Linked DNA regions of Homo sapiens: regions 1, 2, 3, 4, 6 and 7 are each linked to region 5. The links are contacts of gene promoters, found by promoter capture Hi-C in human tissues and cell types (Jung and others, 2019). All regions are on one chromosome and are shown on one strand. Each heading gives the region's core, a stretch centred on a gene start or on the middle of the fragment in contact. The rest is flanking DNA. Distances are from core to core; before and after follow the strand shown. Region 1 has its middle 110 kb from the start of LINC02214. Region 2 has its middle 230 kb from the start of LINC02214. Region 3 overlaps LOC105379136 (a long non-coding RNA gene). Region 4 has its middle 86 kb from the start of LINC02214. Region 5 holds the start of SEMA6A (semaphorin 6A). Region 6 has its middle 130 kb from the start of LINC02214. Region 7 has its middle 310 kb from the start of LINC02214.

Region 1 (2,700 bases), core at 36-2,535, 300 kb before region 5:
ATAACAGGTCCCAAGTAAGTCTGGAACCCAACAGGGCAAACAACATTAAATCTTAAGTCTCAAAAATAACCAATAACCTTTGACTCAATGTTCCACCCTCTAGACACATTGGAGTAAGAGTTAGGCCCCCAGAGCTCCAGGTAGCCCTGCCCTGTGGCTTTGCTGGGCACAGCCCACACCACAGCTCTTACTAGTTATAGCCAAGTGCCTTAAGCTCTCCCAGGCTGGAATCACACCTGGTGACTCTACTAGTCAGAGGTTTCAGAGGCAGCCTTGCCCCCATGGCTCCACTAGTCATTGCCCTGCTGGGGGTTCTTTGTTGTGGCCTAGCCCCACAGTGGCCCTCTGTCTGGGTCATATGCCCAAGGGTCCAGGAGGCTCCATCCTTCTAAATCTAAGTGGAGGTAACCACACTCCACAGCTCATGGACTCTGTATGGCCGTGGAGATGGCACCACCGAGACACTGCCAGGGTTTACCAGTTGTGCCCTTTTGCAGAGTGGTTATTGTACCTGCACTGCACTTGGGCCCACTGGATCTAAAATCTGGGGTGGCTAAGGAGCACTGAGCTAGAATGCAGGGAGCAGAGCCTTGAAGGGGTGCCAGGCAGCCAGTAAGAAGGTCCTGTAGAAGCCCATGATCCCTCATTTAAAATCATTCTGCCCCCGAGGCTTTTGCACTCTGGGCCTCCAATGAGAGGGGCATCAGTGATGGTCTCCAAACTTCCTTTGTTGTTATTCTTCCATTGTCTGAATGACTACCACTTGACAACTCCATACTAATCTCCTCTTTATCAAACAGCAGTTTGGCCATAACTTTGGTGGTCTCTCTCAAATATACTTTCTAATTCCTTTAAATATGGACAAAGTGATAATTTTCCAAATCTTTGCATTCTGCTTCTCTTTTGATTAAAAATCCCATCTTTAAATCATTTCACTCTTCTTACATTTTACTATCTGCCTCCAAGAGAACAAGAGAAGCCAAGCTGAAGCTGCACCCTCAACATCAACACTTTGCTAAGAAATGTCCCCAGCTTCATTTCCTATGTTATCATTCACAAGTTCCATCTTTTTCCATCTTTTCCACAAATACTAGGGCATGAACACAATTCAGACAAGTTCTTTGCCCCTTTTTCAGTAAGGATGGCCTTTTCTCCAGTGTCTAATCAAATATTCCCCATTTCCACCTGAGATGTCATCAAAATGGACTTTACTGTCCATATTCCTATCAACATTGTTTATGATTTTGTGATTTCTTAGATATGCACCTCAAAACTCTCCCAGCCTCTCTCTATTACCCAGTTCCACAGCCATTTCCACATTTCAGGTATTTGTTACAGCACCATTCCATTTCTGGTACCAATTTCTATCTTAGTTCATTTGGGCTGTTATAACAAAATATCATAAACTGGGTAGCTTATTGACAACAGAAATGTATTGCTCATACTCCTGGAGACTGAGAAGTCCCAGATCAAGATATCAACAGATTCTGTGTCTGGTGAGGGCCTATTTCCTTATTAATGGTGGTACCTTTTCACTGTGTTCACGTGGCAGAAGAGACTAGCTAGTTCTCTGTAGTTTCCTGGTTAAGGGCACTAATCTCATTTGTAAGGGCTCTGCCCCATGATTAAATTACTTCCCAAAGGCTTTACCTGCTGATATGGCTTGGCTCTGTGTCCCCACCCAAATCTCATCTTGAATTGGACTCCCATAATTCCCACGTGTTGTGGGAGGGACCCAGTGGTACATAATTTGTATCATGGGGGCAGTTTCCCCCATACTTTCTTTGTGGTAGTGAATAAGTCTCACAAGATTTGATGGTTTTGTCAAGGGTTTCTGCTTTTACATCTTCCTCATTTTCTCTTGCCACCACCACATAAGAAGTGCCTTTTGCCTCCAGCCATGATTCTGAGTCCTCCCCAGCCATGTGGAACTGCAAGTTCAATTAAACCTCTTTTTCTTCCCAGTCTTGGGTATGTCTTTAACAGCAGCATGAAAACAGACTAATACACCTGCTAATACCATCACCTTGGGGTACAGGATTTTAACAGATAAATTTATCATGGGGCAGGGGCAGGTAGGGGTGAATAATGGCACAAACATTCAGACCATAGCCAGGACATTCTACAAAATACCTGACCAGTACCCTTAAACTGTCAAGGTCATCAAAACAAGAAAAGTCTGAGAAACTGTCAAAGTCTAAAGAAGCTAAAGAGACATGATGGTTATCTCAGATGGGATCCTGGAACAGAAAAAGGACATTAGGTAAAAACAAAGATAATATGAATAAAATATGGATGTTAGTTATTAATAATGTATCAGGGATGGGCACAGTGACTCATGCCTGTAATCCCAGCACTTTGCGGGGCTGAGGCCAGCAGATTGCTTGAGCTCAGGAGTTTGAGACCAACCTGGGCAACATGGGAAAATCCTGCCTCTACAGAAAAAAAAAAATTAGCCGGGCATAATGGCATGCACCTGTGGTCCTCACTACTAAGGAGGCTGAGGTGAGAGGATCCCTTGAGCCCAGGAAGTCAAGGTTGCAGCAAACAGTGATTGCACCACTACACTCCAGCCTGGGCAACACAGCAAGATCCTGTCTCAAAAAAAAAAAAAAATATCAGTATTGTTTTATTAATTGTAACAAACACACTAAATAAATGTAAGATGCCAACACTAGGGGAAATAGGATGTGGAGTAAA
Region 2 (2,700 bases), core at 161-2,660, 420 kb before region 5:
TATACATTTATATACACAGATGGAAAATACACACAGTAAAACATGTTCAACATTATTAGTAATGAATAACATGGAAATTAAAACTATAATGAGATACCACTGCACAAAGTAGTGTGTAACATGGTGAAAATTTAAAAGACTGACCATACCAAGCATTGGTAAGGTTGTGGAGGAGCTGAAACTCTCATACACTGATGATGGGAATAAAAAAAAAATGGATCTATCAACTGGAAAGCTATTTAGCAGTTTCTTGTCAAGTTAGACATACACCTACTCTATAAGCCAATTATTTCTCTCCTGGGCATTTATCTAAAAATAAAGAACGAGTATGGCGAAACAAAGTCTTGCACATGAAAGTCCATTGAAGCTTTGTTTATAATAGCCCCAAACTGGAAAAATCCAAATGCACATCAACAGGTAGATAAATAAACAAATCTTGGTATAGTCATACAATGGATTATTGCCCAGTAATAAAAAATAAAAGTAATAAAATTAAAAAGCTATGTTACATGCAACAACATGGATGACTCTCAAAATAACTATAGTGAATTAAAGAATCCAGAAAAAAAAAAAAGTACATACCCTATGATTCCACCTATGTGAACTCTAGAATGAGGGTTAATAGACTTTTTCTGTAAAGGGCATGACATTAAATATTTGGAGACCATAGAATTTCTGATGCAACTGCTGGACTCTGGTATTATGGCACAATAGCAGCCATAGACAACACATAAATGAATGAGTGCAGCTGTGTTTCAATAAAACTTTGTTTACAACAACAGGCAGTTGGTCCACAGGCCATGTAGTTTGCCAACTCTTGTCTAGAAAATGCAATTTAATCTACAGTAACAGAAAGCAGACCGGCACTGGCCAGGAAAAAGGTGAGTGACAAGCGGGTAGAAGAGAAGGGGACAAGAGGGAGCTTTTGAGAATAATCCATAAGGTCACTCTTTATTGTGGTGATGGTTTTGCAGGTATATACATAAGTCAAACTTGTCAAATTATGCACTTTAAATATGTGCAGTTTATCGTACATCAGTTATACCTCAAGAAAGCTGGTAACAAAAAGAAAAGAAGTCCAGGGCTATTTTTCATATCCAATTAAAGATTGACAACAGTTGGCATTTTTTATTCAAGCAGCTTCAGCTCTTGTTTTTCTTCTACTATCTAATGTAATGTAGAAATGAATCTCAAATCCAATCACACTTTTTCATACCAAGTTTTTTTTAATGAAGTTCTCATTTGCAGTATGTTAGTCATCACGCTGCAACTCAGAAGGACATTCAGTCACAAACAGAAGTATTTATTATGTAAGAGAGATATTTATGTGTTTACTTGAACTGCACCTGCCAGATACCCCTTCCCTACCCTGTCCCTCACTCTCCTTTCCCCACTTTTGTGTGGCCACACTTGGACTGTGTACAGAAACACAAACAGCTCCAATATTTTCATGGAGCCCTTTACAAATGGGCAAGGGTTATGCTCTACAACTGGAGGCTAGAATGGATGGCAAAGTGGTAGCACCCCTTTGGCCAGGCTCAGGTAGTTTTGGAAGAGCAACGACAGCTGAAGATCGTGGTTTCTGCCATCTATTTAGATCACTGAGCAAGTTTATGAGACCTGAAGCAACCAGCCTGGGACTATGGCTATCCAAGACACAACTAGTTATCCAGGGGACTTAGGTGATCCTCACCCCATCCCTGTTATCCATTCACAACATAACAGGCTGTCCAGCAAACTGTGACATTCTGTTCTAAGGCTGTGTCCTAAAAAGAATTAAGCGTGAGACATACATTCTTTTTTTTTTTTTTTTGAAAGTTCTGGGATACATGTGCAGAACATGCAGGTTTGTTACATAGGTATACATGTGCATTGTTGGTTTCCTGCACCTATCAACCCATCATCTAGGTTTTAAGCCCCACATGCATTAGCTATTTTTCCAAATGCTCTCCCTCCCCTTGCCCCCAGTCCCATGGCAGGCCCTGAAGTGTGATGTTTCCCTCCTTGTGTCCATGTGTTCTCATTGTTCAACTCCCACTTATGAGTGAGAACACATGGTGTTTAGTTTCCTGTTCCTGTGTTAGTTTGCTGAGAATGATGACTTCCAGCTTCATCCATCCTTGACTGTTGGTTAGATTGACTACCAATGGAATTGTCGTTGCCTAATTCTGCCTGGAATGATTTCATTGCAGCCTATTGTGGGGAGTGGTGAGAAACAGGAAAATCCCTTTCCAATTCATTCCAGTGTACACTGCATGGAAACTTGCAAGAATTGATGTGATTTAGTATAAAAGCCCTGGCTGGGGACCCAGATAGACCTGGGTTGGGATCACAGTTCTGCTTCTTACTAGCTGTGTGACTCTAAGGAATTTCTTTAACCTCTCTGTGCTTCAGTTTTCTCATCTTTAAAAGTAGAATAACTACCAGTTTTCTATGAAGATTAAATGAGGTAACGGAAGCAAAGTACTGAATTAAATGTTAGTGATTAATACTATTATCATTTATGAGGCCTCCTTAGAGAAAATGTTCTCTGGTCTCAATAGCAGTAGCAAAAGAGTTTTTCCAAAAGTTGCTTTATTTTTACTTTATGGACCTCATGAGTCTTGTAATTTACTATTTCTTCATTCATGTTGGATTTAATGTGGCCAATATTTAGCAAATGTGCTTATTTTATTGCTTGTTTTGTCTACCCTTCTGTCT
Region 3 (2,719 bases), core at 137-2,636, 340 kb before region 5:
TAAAGGGTAAGCAGGTAGCCTCAAGGATGCTGTCTGTGGGCCTTGAGGTAGCCTCTGGTCTCTGTGTCTTCCCTTACTTGTATTCCAGAGAATAGCTCATCTGCTTGTCTTCTTCTTTCAGTCGTTTGACAATGGCTTTCAAGAATCTTTTCAAGTGACATGATAAGATGCCACTGCATGCAGTGACATGAGTGGAAGGAAACTGTGACTTCACTTCTACCATCCATGTGAAGCCCATACCGTTCAAATGAAGATGTCTCTAATGACATCATCTCTTCTCCATATCTGTGTCACATAGCAACTACCTTTCATTTAAATATTCTTTGTAATAAGTTTACCACTGTGAAATCCAATATATCTAAGTATTTTCTCAACCCTTTAGTAGCCCAGAGGCCTTTTTAGAATCCTGTATCCTACCTTTCAAAGAAGCAACACATTTTTCTCAGAAGTCACCTGGAACCTGTGATTCCTTGATTTATTCTCTTCCACCAAACAAAATCATGCACAGCATCTGATTTCTTTATGCCTCACAACTCTGACTCCTAGGTTCCCAGGTATGATAAGATCATATTGTAGAGAGTTGTGTTTGTTATACTGTGAGACTGATGCATTAATGTTTTGATGGAAAGGACTTCCCTGATGTTTAGGTCAACACACAACACAGAAGGCCAAGGAAAATGGCACCTTTCCCCACAAATTAGAAGGAAAAAAATGGTTAACTCAAGTCTTCAATGAATGAGAAAGGAGATGTAAAGCCTAGAGAAAGGATGGTAAGAAGGAAAACAAGTGGAGATAGAAAAAGAGAAAACAGACTCACCTGGAATTTAGCCAAGGGGATCTTGGATGGCAAGACAAGCTGAATGGTCAGGGACCAATTATAAGAACCTCACCAACTGCTGTCCTTAGTAAAACTGCTGTCACTCTTTCGTGGTCCCACAGCACTTTGTCTCTACAACTATCTCCACGTACTCACTACAAAAACAATGTATTACAAACCTGTCTCCCTAGGACACTCACATGAAGCAGAGGCTTCATCCATGTGACTTTGGGTTACCACAGACCCTACAAAGAAGAAAGAATACACAAGTCTCCCAGTAAACTCCTCTTAAAATGACTGATGGAATAAATAAACAAATATGTAAACAAATGAAAGAATATGAATAAATGGAGAAAGTGAATGCTGCTTAAAAAAACAAATGGTGGCCGGGCGTGGTGTCTCATGCCTGTAATCCCAGCACTTTGGGAGGCTGAGGCAGGAGGATTACCTGAGGTCAGGAGCTTGAGACCAGCCTGACCAACATGGAGAAACCCCATCTCTACTAAAAATACAAAAAATTAGCTGGGCATGGTGGCGCATGCCTGTAATCCCAGCTACTTGGGAGGCCAAGGCAGGAGAATCGCTTGAACCAGGGAGGCGGAGGTTGTAGTGAGCCGAGATAGCGCCACTGCACTCCAGCCTGGGCAACAAGAGCGAAACTCCATCTCAAAAACAAAAACAAAAACAAAAACAAAAACAAAAAAGAGGCCTGAATGAAGTCGTCAGTGTAACCCAATTCTCTATTCTGAAGGACACAGTAACTGCAAAAACTGTTGTCAGAACCATTGCTAACGAACTGTAGCTTTCTCTGACCTTTACTAAATCCCTTCTTTGCTTCAGTCTCCAGTGTTCCTTTCATTTAGTTCTATTAGAAATGTTTCCACTTGGGTCTTTTTGAACTTTCATTCTGAATCTATGCAGTACTGTTTGTGTGTGTGTGTGTGTGTGTGTGTGCAAGAATACATGTGTGTAGGCGTGAATGTATGCACATGTGTTTTAAAGTCTTATTTCATTTCTGGATTACTAGTGCTAGTCATGCTAATCATAAAAACACAGTTATTTTTAAGCTCAAACCCCAAAAGAAAGCATGTCCTGAAGTTAAAAATGCATTCCAACCACCATCCACAGGTCCGCCCTAAACAACCGCGCATCTTCGTACAGATGGCTTTAACTCATGAGACAAACTTCCACTTTCTGCCCCTTCTCTGACTGAAAGTATATTTAATATTATTTCTCTCTGAGATTCAATTACAAATGAATTATTTTTAATTTCAACTACTGACAAAATAAGTAAAGCAGCTGGGCTTGCAATAAATCACCCTGTAAATGTGTAGAAACTGTTTAGAACAAACAAGTAGACAAGCACAGCTGCCATCATCATTGGGACATTCCATTCTACACCAACAAGGCTGATCTGAGCCATCACCTCATAATGAACAGCACTTCTCAGTTCACTGGACCCTGAAAAATATACTTACACAGGCAAAAACGATCCCAAATGAGAAGGGAACTGCTGTCCTGGAAAAGAAAAAAAAATTAGGCAAATGTTTGAAGTTTCTGTGCCTTACTTTGCCCATACTGCCATCTTTACTTAAAATAACAGACATAAGAAAATACAAACTTCTTTGGTTTTTACCAGTCTTTAGCATGGTGGTGGCAAAAAATCTGAGAAAACAGAATGACCTAAGACGGGTTCACTGGAGATTTTTTCTACAACCAGCACCACAAGGATGTTCTCAGCTTTAGGCAGATCTGATCTTGCTCTACACTCTTCTCCCGTCAGTGAAGTTCACCATAGTGGATCATTGTCACCACTTTATGGTGGATGGCTCCATCTAAGTCATACAAAAACTTCTACTGGACACTGATGGGAGACAAAGCCCACACGCAAAGGGAGACAAT
Region 4 (2,700 bases), core at 27-2,526, 270 kb before region 5:
AGAAAATCTAGAATGGGAGTGAAGGAGCAGAGACTATAGTTGTTTCACTTATGTTAAATTTCTGCAGATATTGTGGCCAACCACCAATTGAAGAGGACATAATGTACTCTCTGAGTAAATCTGAGAGAATGGACTGCATTGCATGCCTCTTGTGCATCACTTTAAATCCTCTTGGCCTTATTCCAGCCATTAGTATAGTTCTGCACAGGCTTTGAGCAACTTTTGTGCTCTATTTTGACAGCACCTCACCTTGGCCTACACATGCACTTTTGGCTTCTGACCTTAGCACTTCTCTGTTGTCATCATGTGACACTCTAGTGGTTACTCTCTTGACACTCATATGTAATGAACCCAGAGTGCAGAGGAGTTAATGCCCCAGAGGACCACCCTTGGCTAGCCAAGAAGAGGATCCTACTTAGACGATCCTGTGTGATTGCACCATATGCTGCTGTAGCAATGGTTAAATTGCCTTTAGATTGGCTTTCACTGCTTAATTCCCTCAACCCTCACTCCCACGCCTAAGATCACATTCTAAGTAAGTTATCCACACATAGTCTTTATCTGAGGCTCTGCTTTGGAGAGGACGCAGACTAAGACTATTTCACAGTTTATTTAAGAATAGGTAATACTAGGGGCCAGAGTATCAAAGCCCCTGACAAGTATGCAAATTCATTCATTCATTCATTCATTTAGTCATTCAACAAATATTTATTGAAGGGCTACTGTGTCACTGGCATAGTAGTAAACAGACTGCTTTTGTCAAACTTACATTCTAGTAAGAGAAGACAGACAATAAATAAGTACATATATCTTATCCAAACAGTGAATGCTAAGAAGAAAAATAAAGCAAAATAAAAGAAAGAGGGAGAGATGAGAGACTGTGGCCAAGGTTGGGCGCAGTGGCTTACGCCTGTAATCCCAGCACTTTGGGAGGCTGAGGCAGGTGGATTGCCTGAGGTCGGGAGTTTGAAACCAGCCTGACCAACATGGAGAAACCCCGTATCTACTAAAAATACAAAATTAGCCGGGCCTGGTGGCACATGCCTGTAATCCCAGCTACTTGGGAGGCTGAGGCAGGAGAATCGCTTGAACCTGGGAGGCAGAGGTTGCGGTGAGCCGAGATAGTGCCACTGTACTCCAGCCTGGGCAACAAGAGTGAAACTCTGTCTTAAAAAGAGAAAAAAAAAAACAAAAAAAACAAGTGGGTCCAAAGGCCCTCTTTTATAAGGTCATATTTGAGCAGAAAAGTGAGTAAAGTGAGAAAACTTGTCATGAATAAATACAGGTAAAAAGCATTCCAAGAAGAGGGACTATAAGTGAAAGGTCTCCACAGATGTGGCACGTTCCGGAGGCAGGAAGAAAACCAGCGGGACTGACTGGAGGAGACAGGTTGAAGGAGAGGCTGGAAGGAGAGAAGATAAGAAAGACAGTACGGGGCCTTAATGCATGGATGCATGGCACCTTGTGGGCTGTTACGTGACGGAAGGGTTCAGAGTACAGGAGCGCTATTCAGAAGGATCACTCTGGGTGCTATGTGCAGGGCAATAAAAGAGGAAGCAATACGGAGGTCATGGCAATAAGGCATGGAAGAGGATGAGGATAGAGACTTGTTCTGAGGCAGTAGCATGGAGCTGGTAAGAGGTAGCTGAATTCTAAAAACTTTTCAAAGGTGGAGCAGTACTAGATTTCCCAGAATTGGATGTGGGGTGTGAGAGAAAGGGAGCAATAATGAAATCTCTCTCCCTTTCATTGCATTGGATAGTTTTTGCCCAGTGCAACTTGAAAAATGGGGTTGATGTTTAGGAAGATGCACAATATCATTGCATAAACTTAGATGGGCAAGGGGATGAGGGGCCTTCTCAACCTGTGCACAGGGGCTTCTCTGGTCTAGCTTTTCCTTTCAGCTGTTGGCTTGCCCCTCTCTCATCCACATGATAAATTCAGGAGTTGGAGAAAAGCTGCTGGGGCTATCTATGGCCCTTTTTTCTAGATGCCCACAAATAGCCTCATATACTGCACCTTTGAAAGGATAGCCTGGGTAGGCTTTGCCTTTGGATATCCAAACATCTCCAACAGTACTCAAACCTTTCATCTCCCCTTTTTTAGACTCTAACAATGGGGCAGAGCTTAGGCTCCTTTCTGAGACCCACCATAGTTGTACTTCCCTTCTTTGCTTTCCGATTTACTTCCGTCACTTTCCCATCCCTATGACAGTCACAAGAATTTTCAGCTAATCTGAAATCTATTTTTTATAGCATAAGCTTTATATACTGAGTGTTTCAAAGTTTCCAAAACATGTTCTTGCAGCTTAAAAACTGTATTATATTTTCCCTTAGGCATGAGCACCAATGACTAAATTGGGGAAGAGGAACTCAAGGGAGAAGGCAGCTCAGAATCAAAGGTACTTGGAATTTGAAGGGGAAAACTTGGTCTCTTAGAATATTATTTTATTATAAATAGCAATCATGGCCAGGCACGGTGGTTCACGCCTGTAATCCTAGCACTTTGGAAGGCCAAGGCAGGTGGGTCACCTGAGGTCAGGAGTTCGAAACCAGCCTGGCCAACATGGTGAAACTCCATCTCTACTAAAAATACAAAAATTAGCCGGGCGTGGTCGTGGGCACCTGCAATCCCAGCTACTCAGGAGGCTGAGGCAGGAGAATTGTTTGAACCCAGGAGGCGGAGGTTGCAGTGAGCTGA
Region 5 (2,700 bases), core at 162-2,661:
TGGAGAACAGCAGGGGTACTGATTTTTTCTTTTTTTCCTACCATTCTCCCTACCTTTTCCAGGTGGTGGTAGTGGTGCGGGGGGAATGGGTGTTGACCCATGTGCATTTATTCTTCGTGAAGCCTCTTAAGCAGATGTCTGTACTTAGAGAAGCGACCAAAGAGGGAACGTGGACTTATTAGTGGTCTTAGTCCCAATTAGGGAACAGGTACAGTTTCCAATATAAAGAAACTCGGCCTAAGTGGGACTGAGACCCCGATCTCCGCACTTGCTTTTCTCAGCCAACTCCATGACTAGTAAATATCTCTCCGAGAACTGCTGGGCCGCCCGATGTTACTTTGTTTAAAGGTTGCGACTAGGATCCGTACCATCTGCGAAGCCCCCTTGGGGAGCAAGAGCCGCGGCGCGCAGTTGATTTCGGGGCGCAGCGGCAGGGGGAGGGGAACGTGGTGTGGCCCGACGAGTTGGCACAAGCCTGTAACTGCAAGACTTTGTAGCTATTGAAAGTTCAAGTGGTGAAAGAAGGCTGTGCCTGCCATTCTTCATGTGATCATAACAATAGCGCCTTGGAAGTGGTTGCGATTTTCTTCTTCCATAAACCTTTTGGGTTCTCACTGGAATTGTATGCGTGTTATTTCTGAAGTTTACTTATTTCTAAGACCAGTCCACAAAATGTGAACTTCATTAAGTTTTAAAATAGATCGCCGTCGTTAAAAACGCCATTCTCTGCACTGTAGTTTATTTGCTTACTTCACATGCTTTATTAACGTGTGTATGTGCGTAATTAATAGCTGTGTTCTTATCTTCCAAGTGTATTTTTAACCGCACCGGCTTCTATCCAATTCATCTAACTACGTAGAGCGTCCATCGCTTCTGGAATCTACCTCTTGATAACAGTAATCAGAATCAGAAAAGCTCGCCGTTCACTTACCCTCATCCTTTAAAACTTTTCCATTTAAGAAAATCGATGAACAAAACCTTTCTTGTAACTCGCTCCTGCACTACGTCTATTTTTATTTATTTTTCTGATTTGGCAGGACTCAGCAATGCTGTCCGGGATTTTTTTTTTCTTTTTTTTTTTCCTAGCTAGAGCAGATGTGGGGGTGGGGGAGGTGAGGGCTGGGCTCCAGCCAGAGTCGCCCCCGCTGAGCCTCCGCCTAGCGCGCGGTGGGGCCAGGAATCCTGGTGGAAGGAAGCGGCGCTGGCCAGTTGGTCCAAGGCTCCACCTGCAGCCACACCGCGTAGTTTCTCCGCCTCTGCCTCGCTCACTCGCACTCACATACACCACAGCTCTCCTTTGGGTCGGAGGAGACGCCAGCCAAAGTAGGCGGAGTTGCGGAAGGAGAGTCCGATCTGCGCAATCCAGTCCGGGACTTGGCTCCGCCCGGGAGCGGCGGCCTCTCCGGTGACAGAGGAGTAGTGAGCGGCACGGGGTGAGGCTGCAGCCAACTCCGCTCCCCGCGCACTCGGCTGCCCAGGCGCTCGGAACCCAGCAGCGGCGCTCCTCCGCGGTGCCGGTCGCCCGCGATGCCCGCTTAGCAGCGTGTAGCAGCGGCCAGCATCACCACACCCGCGGCACCGCGCTGCCGGCCGCAGAGCCGGGCCAGAGCCTTGCACCCCTGCCCCAGCCCCCACCCCGCCCCCCGCCCTGAAATGACTTGTTAATCGGCGCAGACACCACCAAGGGGACTCACCGAAGTGGAATCCAAGTGGAATTTGGATTTGGAGAAGAGTTTCTTGAACATTTACCCTCTTCCTTGTTGGTTTTCTTTTTCTTTTTCTTCTTTTTTTTTTTGGCTTCTTTTTTCCTCTCCCCTTCTCCGCTCGTCATTGGAGATGAACACATCGCGTTTGCATCCCAGAAAGTAGTCGCCGCGACTATTTCCCCCAAAGAGACAAGCACACATGTAGGAATGACAAAGGCTTGCGAAGGAGAGAGCGCAGCCCGCGGCCCGGAGAGATCCCCTCGATAATGGATTACTAAATGGGATACACGCTGTACCAGTTCGCTCCGAGCCCCGGCCGCCTGTCCGTCGATGCACCGAAAAGGTACGCCCCGGGCGCCCGGGCGCGCCCCACCTCCCGGGCAGCTGGACTCCAGCCTGAGGGTCCCGGGGCCGTGGCTAGCGCGTGCTGTCGGCTTTGTGGTGCCTGCGTTTTATTTTGTCTTGTGTCTCTGTTTCCCGAGCCTTGCCCGGTCCTGGGGGAGCAGCCGTGAGCCCTGCCTGCCTTTCCTCTCTGCCCTGCGCCCCAGAGTGCGTCCGGCTCCACGTCGAGAGCTTTCCCACCCGCGTTGCGCACACGCCCGGCGCCGCCCCGGGCCGCGACGGCGCGTATGGCTGTTCCTCCTGGGGGTGTGTGTGCGAGACCCAAGGCTCATCCTCCCGCGTGCCCAGCAGGGAGCAGAGCGGGCCCTAAATGGTGGGATTCTCGGAAGCTCCCTGGCCCGGTGTGTCGAAGGCAGGGGAAGGGGTTCTGCCCTCGAGGGCTGGAGGGGGTTGGGTATAACAGCGCTGTTTTCGTCCAGTGCCAGGTGGGAGAAGGGGTTCCGCGGAGACGGTGTGGAAGCGGAGAGAATCTTTTGTTGTCAGTGTGGGGTCTGGGCTGGGCTCCGTGGAGTGCAAGAAACTTGTAATGGCTCTAGGCACCCGCGCGCCCTGTCTCTCGGTGAGATCCTGGCTCCTGTGGCCGCTGCCACCA
Region 6 (2,731 bases), core at 69-2,568, 320 kb before region 5:
TGTTGTCCAGCAGCAGGCAGGAATGGGAGTCCAAGCAACTAAGGAAATCAGCATAAATACTAAGAGTTAAGTAACAAGAGATCCTAGTCCAAAGCAGTTAACATGGTGGAGGAATCAGGCAGCTAGTAGGTCATAGAGGTATAACCTAGAAGGTAGTTCAATCCCAGACCCCCAGATGTCTCTGCATTCCCGATGACTTCCCTTCCCATGTCCATTCTGCCTTCAAATTTCTATTGCTACATAAGTCTGCATTCCACTCTTCTCTCAAGACGGGTGGCCTCTTCTGCCCCTCCTCTCTGCTCAGCTCCGAACCCAATCTATATGAGTGTCTTCATTGTTGCACACATGAATACACATATGCACACAGAGACACACACACACCAGTCACTAAAAGCTCTTTTCTATGTAGCACATATTACTGAAGTCTTGGGGAAACAGATGAATTGACTTCTAGCTATTAAAATAACTTAAAATCTAGAAGTTCTTCAGCCACCCTACTGTGTTGTTTAGTCATTCACTCTGCCCTTATTCCCAATACCCTCACTAAAATTCTCCCTGTCCTCCAAATTCCTGCTTATCTTTTATGAATAGCAGATTAGCAATCTTTTTTTTTATTTTGTTCAAATCTGTACTCTAAGAGACAGATTTAACATAACTATCAAGGAGTTTCCCAAACGAAGACAGTTCCCCACCTTGTGTTATACTCATCCTTATTACTATAACTATCAATATTATTTTAATTTTTACTTATCCAGCTCTAAAGTCAAGTTGTCTTCTGGTTTTTCTCCCACTTAATGAATCCTCTTTTACCAACCTCCAAATGTCAGAAAGACACGAGGGTTCAGTATTGTGACCTCATTAGCTCTCTATTAGAGTCTGCTCCTATGTAATCTCATCAAGTCACAAGACCTTAAAGAACAAATATGCTATTGACTTCCAAATTTTATATCTCCAGCTTTGCTCTTGTAGATGTCAAATAAAAATCTAAAACATCGACAAATCTAAAACAGCATGTTAATTATTCTCCCCAAACCTGTCTTTTTATTTCCAGTGTTGTCCATCTCAGTAAATGGAAGGCCAAGGTGGGAGGATCACTTGAGCCCAGGAGGTCAAAGCTGCAGAGAGAGCTATGATTACACCACTGAACTCCAGCTTTTATTAAGACCCTGTCTTAACAAAAACAACAACAACTACAACAACAACAAAGAACATTATTGAGAAAATGAAAATGCAACCTACAAAATGGGAGAGAATATTTGCAAATCACATATTTGAAAAAGGTCTAGTATCTAGAATATATAAATCACTCTTACAACTCACTAACAAAAGGAAAAAAAAGGGGCAAAAGATTTGAATAAGTGTAACTCCCAAAAAGATACATGAATACAAATATCAATAAGTACATGCAAAGATGTTTAACATCATTGGGGGTTAGAAAAATGAAAATCAAAATCATAATGACATACCACCCACCTGAATTACTATAATTTTTTTAAATCAGAATATAAAAGGAATTGCTGATAATGTATTAAAATTGGAACCCTCATACATTGCTAGTGGAAGGTATATTGGTATAGACATTGTGGAAAACAGTTTGGTATTTCTTAAAAAAATAAGTAACATGTAATATTCATACATACAACTGAATGTTAGGCAGTTAGAAATAAAGTGCACATGGAGCAACAAGAACTTTCTTTGATTGTTGCTGGGAATGCAAAATGCTATAGTCATTTTGGAAAATAGTCTAGCAGTTTCTTACAAAACTAAACGTACTGTTATCATACGATTCAGCAATTGCATTTCTGGATATTTACTCAAAGGTTTTGTAAACTTTTACCTACCAAAAACTCTGCACACGGATATTTATAGTAGCTTTATTCATAGTTGCCAAAACTTTGAAGCATCCAAGATGGCCTGCCGTAGGTGTGCAGATAAATAAACAGGTACATCTAGATAATGGAATAGTACTCAGTGGTAGAAGGAAATAAGCTGACAAGCCATGAAAAAACAGGGAAGAAACTTAAATGCATAGACTAACTGAAAGAAGGCAATCTGAAAAGGCCACATACTGCATGACCTGAACTATATGACATTCTGGAAAAGTCAAAACTGTAGAGACAGTATAAAGATCAGTGGTTGCCAGGGGTTAGAGAAGAAGGAGATGAATACTGATTGGGTTCAGAATATACTTCCCCAAAATATGGCACCTTGGCATTTGAGAAAGCAACAGAAACAAGAAGGTCACTCTCACCCTCCCCACACCACTCTTTCCTGAAGCAGGTCATAAAACCTAGGATGAATTTTCTGACTTTCATAAGATATGGAAGTTCCTATCCTATTGGTACATGGAGAGTACGTCTCACATGGGGGTCTTATGAATATCCATATCTCTGAAGACAAAGGGTCACAGAGAAGAATCTGAACAAATGGGTCTCACTACATTTCCCTCAGTTTGTTACCATTAGATCATACCCTTTTTGACCTGGTACATTTACCCATAACTATCCATACTATCCATTTTTCATCAAACCTAGCATAGAAATACGCAGGTTTAACCATTTATTTGAGTTTTCACTTCTTTACAGTTATTCCCATGTCACATAAAGCTTATATGAAATGAATATGTATGCTTTTCTCTTGTTAATTTGTATTGTTAAAGGGGTGTCAGCCATAAACCTAGGTAGAGTAGAGAAAAAGATTATTTTTTCCACTACCAACGTTTTCTGGAGCC
Region 7 (2,700 bases), core at 114-2,613, 500 kb before region 5:
TCAAATATGCAGGAACCAATGCAAGGAAATAGGAATTATTTTAAAATCAGGGAAATATGACACCATCAAAAGAGATAATAAAGCTTCAACAATGGACCCAGAAGAAATAGAGATCTATGAAATAACTGACAAATAATCCAGAACAATCCTCTTAAAGTTCAGGAAATTCCAAGGACATGCAGGTAGGACATTTTTTTTTAATGTGGCAAATAATTCATCAACAAAATGAGAAATCTGACAAAGAAATAGGAACTTTTTTGGAAATCAAATAGAAATCCTAGAGATAAAGAATAAAATAACTGAACTGAAAAATTCAACATAAAGCTTCAAGAGTAGACTTGATCAACCAGAAGAAAGAATCAATGAGCTCAAAGATAAAACATTTGAAATTACTCTGTCAGAGACGAAAAAAGAATGAAAAAGGCCAATAAAATGATGGGACACCAGCGAGTGAACTAATCTTCACATGATAGGAGTTCCAGAAGTAGAAGAGAAATTAAAAGGCCCAGGAACATATTTAAGGAAATAATGGCTAAAACTTTCCCAAGTCTACAGAAATATGACAACATCCAGGTACATAAACTCAGAGGTCTTCAGTAAAATTCAACCTAACGATTTCATTAAGACACGTGATAATCAAATTAAGAAACATCAAAGACAAAGCAAGAATATTGAAAGCTGCAAAAGAAGCATAATATACTCAAGAGCCCCAATACAGCCCTCAGCAGATCTCTCAGAAGAAACCCTGCACACCCAGAGAGAGTGAGATGATATATTCAAAACGCTGAAAGAAAAATAAAACTGCCAACCAAGAATTAATATTGTAATAATGTCTATACTATCCAAAGTGATCTGTGATTTAATGCAATCGCTATCAAAGTTCCAGTGTCATCCTTCACAGTCATAGAAAAAACAGCCTTTAAATTCATATGGAACTACAGAAGACCTGAATAGCCAAGACAATCTTGAGCAAAAAGAAAAAGCTGTAAACATCACATTCCCTGATTTAAAAATATATTATAAAGTGGTTGCAACCAAAACAGCATAGTATTGGCATAAAAACAGGTACATTGGCCAATGAAACAGGATACAAAGCCTAGAAATAAACTCACACATTTATAGTCGATGGTTTTTGATGAAGGTACTAAGGACACACAGTAGGGAAAAAATAGTCTTTTCAATAAATGATGCTGGGAAAACTTGATGCCATGGAACGAAATTGGATACTTATCTCACATCATATACAAAAATCAACTCAAATGAAAGACCTGAAACTGTAAAACCACTAGAATAAAAAATATAAGAAAAGCTTCATGATATTGGGCAACAATTTTTTGGATATGATCCTGAAAACACAGGCAACAGAAGCAAAAATGGGTAAATGCGATGGCATCAAACTAACAAATTTCTGCACAGTAAATGAAACAATTAACAAAGTGAAGAGATAACCCACAAAATGGGAGAAAATATTTTCAAACAACACATCTGATAAAAGGCTAATATTCAAAATATATAAGGAAATCAAACTAGTCAACAGCAAGAACACAAGCTAATTTTTAAAATGGCAAAGGACTTGAACAGACATTTCTCAATATAAGACTACAAATGGCCAACAGGTACATTGAAAAATGCTTAGCATCACTAATCATTAGGAAAATGCTGATTAAAGCCACAGTAAAATATTATCTCACACCTTTTAGAACGGCTGTGATCAAAAAAGCAAAAGGAAAAAAAATATTGACAAGGATGCAAGGAAAAGGGAACTCTTGTACATTATTGGTGGGACTAATTTGTTACAACCATCATGAAATTTGTATGGAGGTTCATCAGAAGACTAACAACAGAACTACCACATGGCTGTATTGTATATTTCAAAAAAAAAAAGAGTAAATTTCAAAAGTCTCTCCACAAAAATGATAAGTAAATCAAGTGATGGATATGTTAATTATATTGATTAAATCATTTCACATTGTATATGCATATCAAAACATCATATTGTACCCCCAAAATATATACTATTACAAATTGTCAATTTAAAATGCTAATTTTTTAAAAGATGAAACAAAACTGCCCATAATTATTTGAAAATATGTTCAACTTCACAAGGAATGAGAGACATACAAACTTACATTACAATGAAATATTTCACATCCACTAGATTACAAAATTTTTAAATAAAATATAATGAGGATATAGCACAACAGACTTTCTTATGCATTGCTTGTAGAAGTGTAAATTGATTAAAAAAAAAAAAAGCATTTTAGAAAGCAGTTTTTCTTTCTACATGGGAAACCTGACAATTTGACAATATGCATCCTATAGGAGACAGAATAATGTCCCCACCAAAGATGTCCATGTTCTGATCTCAAGCACCAGTGAATATGTCATGTTACACATTAAGGGGAGTTAAGGTTGCAGGTGGAATTCACGTTACTATATTCTGTTACATTACATTTTAACATCAGCTAACACTAAAATGAAGGGATTATCCTGGAAGGCCCGATGTAATCATAGGAGATCTTTAAATGTGAAAGAAGGAGACAGAAGATTCAGGGTCAGAAACACAGATTTGAAAACAGAAGCAAGGTTGGAATGATTCTATGTAAGGACTCAACCCACTGCTGCTGGCTTTGAAGATAGAAAGGGGCCATAAGCTAGCAAGAAACCAGATTCTCCTCTAGAGTGTCCAGAAGGCTTATT

What was found. The method cuts DNA at HindIII sites, captures the fragments that hold promoters and counts their contacts. A contact is called where the count stands out against the background at its distance.
Region 1: a contact is called between a fragment that was not itself captured here and the fragment with the promoter of SEMA6A in region 5, in 2 of the 25 tissues and cell types used here (H1 embryonic stem cells and mesendoderm cells).
Region 2: a contact is called between a fragment that was not itself captured here and the fragment with the promoter of SEMA6A in region 5, in 2 of the 25 tissues and cell types used here (lymphoblastoid cells and thymus).
Region 3: a fragment that was not itself captured here is called in contact with the fragment with the promoter of SEMA6A in region 5 in 2 of the 25 tissues and cell types used here (lymphoblastoid cells and neural progenitor cells).
Region 4: a fragment that was not itself captured here is called in contact with the fragment with the promoter of SEMA6A in region 5 in 1 of the 25 tissues and cell types used here (heart left ventricle).
Region 6: a contact is called between a fragment that was not itself captured here and the fragment with the promoter of SEMA6A in region 5, in 1 of the 25 tissues and cell types used here (lymphoblastoid cells).
Region 7: a contact is called between a fragment that was not itself captured here and the fragment with the promoter of SEMA6A in region 5, in 2 of the 25 tissues and cell types used here (mesenchymal stem cells and neural progenitor cells).

What each region holds. Positions count from the first base shown.
Region 1 is chr5:116,868,598-116,871,297 of GRCh38, reverse strand. No RefSeq gene overlaps it. Among named protein-coding and RNA genes, the nearest start is that of LINC02214, 110 kb to the right of the region's middle. The HindIII fragment of the contact is 6,591 bases long and covers 1-2,700 here.
Region 2 is chr5:116,994,144-116,996,843 of GRCh38, reverse strand. No RefSeq gene overlaps it. Among named protein-coding and RNA genes, the nearest start is that of LINC02214, 230 kb to the right of the region's middle. The HindIII fragment of the contact is 5,158 bases long and covers 1-2,700 here.
Region 3 is chr5:116,911,882-116,914,600 of GRCh38, reverse strand. LOC105379136 (a long non-coding RNA gene) reads right to left here. Exons shown (of 3, transcript XR_948692.2): 2 at 2,296-2,335; 3 at 1,007-1,062. All of the region lies in intron 1 of LOC105379135 (a long non-coding RNA gene), which reads left to right. Among named protein-coding and RNA genes, the nearest start is that of LINC02214, 150 kb to the right of the region's middle. The HindIII fragment of the contact is 5,708 bases long and covers 1-2,719 here.
Region 4 is chr5:116,846,942-116,849,641 of GRCh38, reverse strand. No RefSeq gene overlaps it. Among named protein-coding and RNA genes, the nearest start is that of LINC02214, 86 kb to the right of the region's middle. The HindIII fragment of the contact is 8,367 bases long and covers 1-2,700 here.
Region 5 is chr5:116,573,534-116,576,233 of GRCh38, reverse strand. SEMA6A (semaphorin 6A) reads left to right here and starts at 1,411. Exons shown (of 19, transcript NM_020796.5): 1 at 1,411-2,049. SEMA6A-AS2 (SEMA6A antisense RNA 2) reads right to left here and starts at 1,816. Exons shown (of 3, transcript NR_147170.1): 1 at 1,695-1,816. RefSeq lists a silencer at 1,576-1,655. The HindIII fragment of the contact is 11,240 bases long and covers 1-2,700 here.
Region 6 is chr5:116,895,621-116,898,351 of GRCh38, reverse strand. No RefSeq gene overlaps it. Among named protein-coding and RNA genes, the nearest start is that of LINC02214, 130 kb to the right of the region's middle. The HindIII fragment of the contact is 4,439 bases long and covers 1-2,731 here.
Region 7 is chr5:117,069,365-117,072,064 of GRCh38, reverse strand. No RefSeq gene overlaps it. Among named protein-coding and RNA genes, the nearest start is that of LINC02214, 310 kb to the right of the region's middle. The HindIII fragment of the contact is 3,121 bases long and covers 1-2,700 here.